Linked DNA regions of Homo sapiens: all the other regions are linked to region 2. The links are contacts of gene promoters, found by promoter capture Hi-C in human tissues and cell types (Jung and others, 2019). All regions are on one chromosome and are shown on one strand. Each heading gives the region's core, a stretch centred on a gene start or on the middle of the fragment in contact. The rest is flanking DNA. Distances are from core to core; before and after follow the strand shown.

The links. The method cuts DNA at HindIII sites, captures the fragments that hold promoters and counts their contacts. A contact is called where the count stands out against the background at its distance.
Region 1: a contact is called between a fragment that was not itself captured here and the fragment with the promoter of AQP10 in region 2, in 1 of the 25 tissues and cell types used here (dorsolateral prefrontal cortex).
Region 3: the fragment with the promoter of DPM3 here is called in contact with the fragment with the promoter of AQP10 in region 2 in 1 of the 25 tissues and cell types used here (neural progenitor cells).

Annotation. Positions count from the first base shown.
Region 1 is chr1:155,018,762-155,021,509 of GRCh38, forward strand. All of the region lies in intron 14 of DCST2 (DC-STAMP domain containing 2), which reads right to left. Among named protein-coding and RNA genes, the nearest start is that of DCST2, 14 kb to the right of the region's middle. The HindIII fragment of the contact is 3,850 bases long and covers 1-2,748 here.
Region 2 is chr1:154,319,620-154,322,667 of GRCh38, forward strand. It overlaps AQP10 (aquaporin 10), which reads left to right and starts at 1,474. Exons shown (of 6, transcript NM_080429.3): 1 at 1,474-1,641; 2 at 2,314-2,440. The coding sequence starts at 1,537. RefSeq lists a silencer at 1,253-1,444. The HindIII fragment of the contact is 14,849 bases long and covers 1-3,048 here.
Region 3 is chr1:155,139,118-155,142,014 of GRCh38, forward strand. DPM3 (dolichyl-phosphate mannosyltransferase subunit 3, regulatory) reads right to left here and starts at 1,414. Exons shown (of 2, transcript NM_153741.2): 1 at 1,374-1,414; 2 at 774-1,128. The coding sequence starts at 1,123. The coding sequence ends at 845. RefSeq lists enhancers at 1,354-1,483, 1,654-1,713. The HindIII fragment of the contact is 27,453 bases long and covers 1-2,897 here.

The DNA of each region.
Region 1 (2,748 bases), core at 75-2,574, 700 kb after region 2:
TAGTGAGGAGAGGAAGGGGGTGGCCGGATCACCCACCTTCTGTCTTCACAGGTGCATCCCTGCCCCCTGCCCTGCCCCATCTGTTCAGATCCAGCTCCTGTTCTTTCTGAGCAACTCCTGCTCTCTCAGGCCCACGAGGCGTACCAGCCCATGGCTGTAGATATTTTCTGATTTTAGGCTGATGCTGGGGGGTGGGCAGTGACTTGCCTGAGGCCACATGGCTAGGAAGGGCAGAATCACTAGTGACCTCAGTAGTCACACCTGCTCAAGGCTCAAGCTGTCCCCTCTGCTGACCCAGCTTATCCTTTCACTGGGCCCTCTAGAACCTCTGAAAAGAAAGCTTTGCTTCCCCTTCAACCTCTTGACTCATCATGACCTCTACCGCCCCATTCACACTGGAATGTGCCCACTGGACAGTTTTCTTTGCAGTCCTCCCAAGAGGAGGCAGCTTAACCTTCTCAAACCCAGCTGGCCCGTAGTGTTTTTTTGCAAAGCCCCTGGCTGCCATGATAGCTGTACCACCAGTGCTGTGGCTGTCTCCTCAGGCCTGCCAGACACCTGCCACATCTGTTTAAGATGCCGGCTCTGGACTCCTGCTGTTTGTATGGTCCTGCAACCTCGTCGCTAGAGGACCCACCCAATTCTCTGGCCTCTCAATCCCTAACCTCCTTGGTTCTATTGACCGTCATCTCTGTTCCCACTCAGACGTCTTCCTCAGCCTTGGCCTTTCACTGGATTCATTCCAGAGTTCTTCCCTGGCCATGGCCCCCTCTCTGAGTCCCTCCTGTTCAGCCAGCTCTCCCTCCTGGCCACTGCCCCTGCTCTAACACGTCATCAAGACAGAGACCCTGGGCTGCCCCCAGGGGCCTTAGCCCCTCCTCTTCCCCAGTCATCTCAGACACTCTTACCAAAGACACCTCAATTCTCACTCCATCTTGTCCTCCTGACCTGCCCAGAAAAAGCCCTCCACCTGTGAATCCTATTCATGGCTACCACATTTGCCAGAGAAAATCACATAACTGAGCGCACTGGAGCAATCATTACAAGTTACAGCTTCCAGCATCATCTGGGCCTTTGACGCTACCTGGAAATCCCTTAACCTCCCTAGTCGGCTTCTTTGCACACTTGCCACGGCAGGTCTTTCAACCTCTACCACCCACTCCTTGAAACCTTTATTCCACTCCCAGCTGCCTGCTCTGCTCTCTCAGCAGGTGCTCTTGCCTCCTACTCCCCAAAGAGAAGCGAGGCCACCAGGCTGGAGTGGGCTCAGCTGCTCAGGGGAACCTATACTCTCCCCCTCTGCCTCTGCCAGCCTGCTCCTTTCTCAGGCAGGCCACCTGGTCCACCTGGCCCTGGAGCCCAAACCTCCCTCCCCAACGTGCTTTTACACTGCCTAAATGCTCAAATCTTCCTGTTCTTAGATCTAGAAAACCCTTTTAGTGCTGAATCCCCTTCAAGCTACTTTCTTGCTCTGTGAAGCTAACTCTCTCTTTCTCTTCACCATCAAGCTTACATTTTTTTCAAACTACAGCACTCATTAGATTAAAAGCATTATCAAACTCCTGGCAACAGTGATGCAGGAGCCACATACCATATTTCTGAGTCCTTTTATTATTTATTTATTTTGAGACAGAGTCTTGCTCTGTCGCCCAGGCTGGAGTGCAGTGGCACGATCTCGGCTCACTGCAACTTCCGCCTCCCGCGTTCAAGTGATTCTTCTGCCTCAGCCTCCCAAGTAGCTGGGATTACAGGCGCCTGCCACCATGCCTAATTTTTTGTATTTTTAGTAGAGACAAGGTTTTACCATGTTGGCCAGGCTGGTTTCAAACTCCTGACCTCAAGTGATCTGCCCGCCTCAGCCTCCCAAAGTGCTAGGATTACAGGCGTGAGCCACCACACCCAGCCTTTCTGAGTCTTCTTTACCTGACACCCCTCAACCCATCATGACAGATCCAGTTTTGGTCTTCCCGATGCCATGAAAAATATTCCCACAAGCTACTCCAGTGATGTCTTAACTGCCTGTCACCTGTCTTCACATGATCCTACTTGATTTTTTTTTTTTTAATCTTCTAATTTTTTGAGACTGGGTCTTGTACTATTGCCCAGGCTGGAGTGCAGTGGTGCAATCTTGGCTCACCGCAGTCTCAGCCTCCCTGGCTCAAGTGATCCCTCCCACCTTAGCCTCCTGAAAGCTGGGACTAAAGATGCACGCCACCATGCCCAGCTAATTTTTGTATTATTACCTATTTATTTATTGAGACCAATCCTCCCTCTGTCACCCAGGCTAAAATGCGGTGGCACAATCTTAGCTCCCTGCAACCTCCACCTCCCAGGTTCAATCAATTCTCCTGCCTTAGCCTCCTGAGTAGCTGGGACTAACAGGTGCGTGCCACCACTCCTGGCTAATTTTTGTATTTTTAGTAGAGATGGGGTTTCACTATGTTAGCCAGGCTGGTCTCGAACTCCTGACCTTAAGTGGTCCTCCCGCCTCAGCCTCCCAAAGTGCTGGGATTACAGGCGTGAGCCACCATGCCCTGGCAAGTTTTTGTATTTTTAGTAGAGATGGAGTTTTGCCATGTTGCCCAGGCTGGTCTCGAACTCCTGGACTCAAGTGATCGGCCCACCTCGGCCTCCCAAATTGCTGAAATTACAGGTGTGAGCCACTGTGCCCATCCCCCTACTTGATTTCATATGTTTGGCTCTCCTGCTTTCTTGAGCCTCTCCCCTCCCTGTCCCCTCCCACTCTCC
Region 2 (3,048 bases), core at 224-2,723:
ATCATAATGGTAGCCCTCAAGAACTTCATAAACTGTATATGGTATTTTAAAAAGTTGCATATTGTCTGTTTCCACCTACTAGAACATAAGCTCTAGGAGGGCAGAGACTATGTTTTGTTCACCACTGTTTCTCCAGTGTCTAGACGTAGATTCTTTGAATGCATTTAATTGGAGCCTTGAGATATGAAGAAGTAGGATGCGGTTACTTCATGCAGAGCAAGAGTGGCATGCACCCAGAGAAGGCCAGGTGGAGCTCAGCATGAGTGTGAAGGCCTCATGTCAAGCCATGTCAGGGGACACAAAGATGGAGTATTCTCTAACCTATGTGACACTCGGCATAAGGGAAGTACAAGCACTCAATATGTGAGTTTCATTCCCACAGTCTGTGGTCTTTAGCCCAGTCTTTCCAGATGCCTATTGAGTTCTTCAAGCATCCAAATGGTTTGGGGTAAGGCTTCAGGTTCTAAATGAGAGGCTTTGTGGGTTACCAGCTGGAGAGTCAGAAAATCTGGATTTGAATTCACTCAGCCATGAAATAATTGTGTGATCTTGGGCCGGGCACGGTGGCTCACGCTTGTAATCCCAGCACTTTGGGAGGCCAAGGAAGGTGAATCACTAGAGGTCAGGAGTTTGAGACCAGCCTGGCCAACATGGTGAAACCCCGTCTTTTTTTTTTTTTTTTTTTTTGAGACAAAGTCTCGCTCTGTTGCCAGGCTGGAGTGCAGTGGCACAATCTCGGCTCACTGCAACCTCCGCCTCCCTGGTTCAAGTGATTCCCCTGCCTCAGCCTCCCGAGTAGCTGGGACTACAGGCGTGCACCACCACGCTAATTTTTTTGTATTTTAGTAGAGATGGAGTTTCACCATGTTGGCCAGGATAGTCTTGATCTCCTGACCTCGTGATCTGCCTGCCTCGGCCTCCCGAGAAACCAAGTCTTTACTAAAAAATATCAAAATTAGCCAGGTGTGATGGACCTGTAGTCCCATCTACTTGGGAGGCTGAGGCAGGAGAATTGCTTGAACCTGGGAGGTGGAGGTTGCAGTAAGCTGAGATGGTGCCACTGCACTCCAGCCTGGGGGACAGAGCAAGACTCTCTCTCAGAAAAAAAAAAAAAAAAAGTTTGATCTTGGGGAGTTCTAAGGCCCACTAGCCTCATCTGTAGAATGGAAGCAATAGTACTACTTTGCAGAGCTGACTTCAGGACCAAGAGATCTAATGTCTATGAAGCGGGGTACTTCCTTCTATTTGTCAGGATGGGGGAGGCTAGTCCTGTGATGACTGGGAATGAAGGGTAAAAGAGACAGAGGTTGGGTAAACTCCAGGCTCTGTGTTCATAGCCTGCTCCCAGACATTCTCTTGTTATCTCTCTGTTTCCTAGCCTACACACGTGCACAGACACGTAGCTGCTGTTCAGGAACTGAGCTAATGGTTTTAAAGTCTGTTCCTTATCTTTGCTGGAGGCAGGCAGTAGCTGTGCAGTGACAGTGTGCCTATGCAGACAGAGGGAGCAGTGAATAGCAATAGGGTGTTTCCACCATGGTCTTCACTCAGGCCCCGGCTGAAATCATGGGCCACCTCCGGATACGCAGCCTCCTGGCCCGGCAGTGCCTGGCAGAGTTTCTGGGTGTGTTTGTACTCATGGTAGGTAGGATCACTGCGGGAAGGAAAGAAGGGGGTTGGGCAAAAGTTCCTGGCTCCTTCTGTTGTCCTTATCTCTTTCTCTTGGTGTCCCCCTTCCTCTCAACTCCCTATCACTTTTCGTTTTTATCCTCTCGTCTCTCCTAATCTCCTTTCCTCTCCTACTTCATCATTTTTATTCTTGTCATTTTTATTCTTTCTTTAATAACAAGTGTATCATAGTTCTTGAAACATAATTTTTCTCTCTTCAGTTTCCCATTTTTATGAAAGACCATTTTCATGGTAAGACCAATGTGCTTTATTATACTTGGCCTGATGATTGTATAAAGTGCAGCAAGAATAATTATTTTTCACATAGGCTTTTAAAATTGGCTTTGATGGAACTCTTCCATAGAAAGAATCTTAGATAAGACTTTTTAAAGCTGAGCCCTGCCATGGGTTTGTACCCTCAAATGCCTATGAGTTGGGTAAATTCTTTTCTTTTTTCCCACATTCTTTCCCTTTCTTCTTCCTCCACTTTCCCCATTTCTTTTCCCTTCCCTCCTTCTGCTTTTCTCCTTCCCTTGCTTGTCTTCTGTGCTCATTCATCTCCTTGGCTGCTCCCCTGGCCTTCCCAACCTTTCTCCCTGTTGGTCTCCTGGGCTCCCTGTTCCTCATCTCTCCTCTTCTCAGCAGCTCCTCACCCAAGGAGCTGTGGCCCAGGCTGTCACCAGTGGAGAAACCAAAGGCAACTTCTTCACCATGTTTCTGGCTGGCTCTCTGGCCGTTACGATAGCCATCTACGTGGGTGGTAACGTCTCAGGTGAGGAGGGTGGGGTCTGGTCATCAGAGCACGTGGGATGTGCATGCCAGTTTGTCTGTCTGGTGATGGTGGAAACGCAAATCCTTCTGTGACTCGTGGACATTATCCCCTTGAACAGTGTCCCAGACTGAAATAAGCCTTTGGCCCCACCAGCCCCTCCTCTTTCTGTATCTCTCCATCCTGCTTCCTCACACTAATGCTTGGCTCACCTAGACAGAAATCAATGGCAGGGCACGAAGGGCAGCTGCTATCCTCTTGTATCCCCCACCTGAAGTCCTCTGGGGGCTCATCTCCACTCAGGACCTCTCCTGTTTGTACCCCAGATACACACTGCATCGGTGTGCTTGGGTGGAGCCTTGAGACATAGTGTGTTGCTGTGGAAAAAGCAGACAGACCTAGGTTCCAACTTTGGATTCACAGTGTCTTCTTCTTTTTTTTTTTTTTTTTTCTTTTTTTTTGAGATGGAGTTTCACTCTGTTGCCCAGGCTGGAGAGCAGTGGTGTGATGTCTGTTCACTGCAACCTCTGCCCCTGGGTTCACGCGATTCTCCTGCCTCAGCATCCCGAATAGCTGATTTTACAGGCACCTGCTACCACGCCTGGCTAATA
Region 3 (2,897 bases), core at 164-2,663, 820 kb after region 2:
CACTTGAGCCCAGGAGTTTGAGAACAGCCTGAGCAACACAGCGAGACCCTGTCACTACAAAAAATTAAACATTAGCCTGGTGGCGTGGTGGCATATGCCTGTAGTCCCAGCTACTCTGGAGGCTGAGGTGGGAGAACTGTTTGAGCCTGGGAGGGTGAGGCTGCAGTGAGCCATGATTGCACCACTGCACTCCAGCCTGGGCAACAGAGTGAGACCCTGTCTCAAAAAAAAAAAAAAAAAGAAGTAGTACGCCGGGCGCGGTGACTCACACCTGTAATCCCAGCACTTTGGGAGGCCGAGGCGGGCGGATTACGAGGTCAGGAGATCAGACCATCCTGGCCAACACGGTGAAACCCCGACTCTACTAAAAATACAAAAAATTAGCCAGGCGTGGTGGCAGGCGCCTGTAGTCCCAGCTACTCAGGAGGCTGAGGCAGGAGAATGGCGTGAACCCGGGAGGCGGAGCTTGCAGTGAGCCGAGATCACGCCACTGCACTCCAGCCTGGACGACAGAGCAAGGCTCCGTCTCAAAAAAAAAAAAAAAGAAGTACTTCCTACAGGGTTGAAAGGACCAGGAAAGTGAAATGTCATTTCCATCCTGAGAAATATTGAGAAGGGGTCTTTGCCTCCTTGGGAGCAAAAATGGGAACACCAGCAAGATGCAAAGATAAAGGCTGAGATGGCCTCAAGAAGGTGGTTCTTTCACATTCACTTCTCGACCGTTAGTACATAGAATCCCCAATACCCGTTTTCCATACTCAAACTAAACGAAGTTAGAAAATAAACTGGCTCTTTAATGGGAAATGGGAGGAAGGGCTGTCCGCACAGGAATGGGGTTAGGCTGTCAGAAGCGCAGCCCCCTGCGGGCTAAGTCGGCTCGGGCCTCCTGTATCTGGCTCTGCAGCTCGCGTGCGGCGTCCTCGCAGTCATGAAAAGTGGCCACACGATAGCCCACAGTGCCCAGGGCATAGCAGCCGGCGGACACCAGCAAGTAGGCGGGCAGTGGCCACAGGACTTCCTGGCAGGACAAGGGCAGCTCCAGGCCCAAGGCTCCCGTGGTCAGGGCCACCCAGGTGGAGCCCAGGATCGCTAGTCCCCAAAGCCACTGCGCTAATTTCGTCATGGTCACTGCGAGAGAAGGAAGCAATGCTCCCCTGAGGAGCAGAAAGGAAAAGCGGACCAAACTCAACCGAAGCCCGCCCACGGAGAGCATTAAAACCAGCCCTGGCCAGAGGGGAATCGCCGATCCCAGAGGTCCGAACTTGAGTGCCCACAAAAGGTGGAAGGGCCCCTTCCACCTTGCTACCCCCTCTATATTTGAGACCCACTCCCCATCTCTCGCCCTCCCCATTCAGCCTTCAACCTACACTTACCTCTACCCCACGTCTCCCCTTCCCCGCGCGGCCCGGATGTTGGCGTCCGGAAGTCCTCCCTGGTTCACGTTCCGCTTCCGCGCGGCCTTCTGGGAGTTGTAGTTCACATGGCGGCGCCTGGTGTACTCCTGGCCAGCGCCTCAATCTAGGCGGGGGTACAGTGGGCTGTGCTCCGCAAACGGGGAGCAGGCCGGGTCTGGAGAGGCCTCGGCGCTGCTTTCCCACCTTGGGCTACGCTCCAGGCTGGCGTGGGGCTTGAGGACATCCTTAAATGTTGCAACAAGATGGGAATATAATACCATTCCCCTTAAACTCAATTCTCCAGCGCTGAAATCCATTCCTTCATTCACTAGTTCATTCATTCGAAGATTTCTTTCTTTCCATTCTTGACAGGGTCTCTCTATAGTGCCTAGGCGGGACAGAACTCCTTTTTTTTTTTTTTTTTTTTTTTTTTTTTTTTGAGACAAAGTCTCGCTCTGTTGCCCATGCTGGAGTACAGTGGCTCGATCTCAGCTCACTGCAACCTCTGTCTCCCGAGCAGCTGGGATTACAGGCGCGCGCCACCACGCCGGGCTAATTTTTTTATTTTTAGCAGAGAACGGGGATTTCACTATGTTGGCCAGGCTGGTCTCAAACTCCTGACCTCAAGTGACTGGCCCACCTCAGCCTTCCAAAGTGCTAGGATTACAGGCATGAGCCACAGCGCCCGGCCAGAACATTTCTTGATTACCATGATAGACTTTGGAGATACAGAGATGTCAAGAGACTCGACCCCTTTCAGGTGGAGGGGGAAAGCAGGAGTCAGTGAAGCAGTTGCATTGACAACTAACCATGAAGGCTTGAGATTATTGTTAGAACAGAGGTAGTCATATTTTTACAAGGACAACAACCAATATAACTTGGAGCCAGAGGAAGAAGGGCTCCAGGAGTCTGGGTTTCAAAAAAAAAGAAAAGAAAAGAAAGACCAGAAGAATTACCTGAAGTGGTGAAGGCATTGAAAGAAAGAGTATAATTCTTTAGAACAGTTTTGGGGATGAATTTATTATGTATAGAGAGAAAGAGAGAGAGAGAACAAAGTAAGAGAAAAGGTTAGGCAATTATCAACTTCAGAGGAAACAAAGAGTTATATAAGAAAGGAAAGACAATTGATAAGCCTGTCTTATAAAGACCACATCTGTAGTTTGACAGTTAGGTTTATTAACTTGCCACAACAGAGAGATCACACACTAGAAGAACTGTGGGGCAACTCATTAAAAAGGAAGAAATATGGTCATTCAGATGATATGGTTTGGCTGTGTCCCCACCCAAATTTCAAGTTGATGTGTATCTCCCAGAATTCCCACGTGCGAGGGACCTAAGGGGAGGTAATTGAATCACGGGGGCCAGACTTTCCCGTGCTATTTTCATGATAGTGAATAAGTCTCACAAGATCTGATGAGTTCATCAGGGGTTTCTGCTTTTGCTTCTTCCTCATTTTTCTCTTGCCACCGCCATGTAAGAAGTGCCTTTGTCTCCCGCCATGAT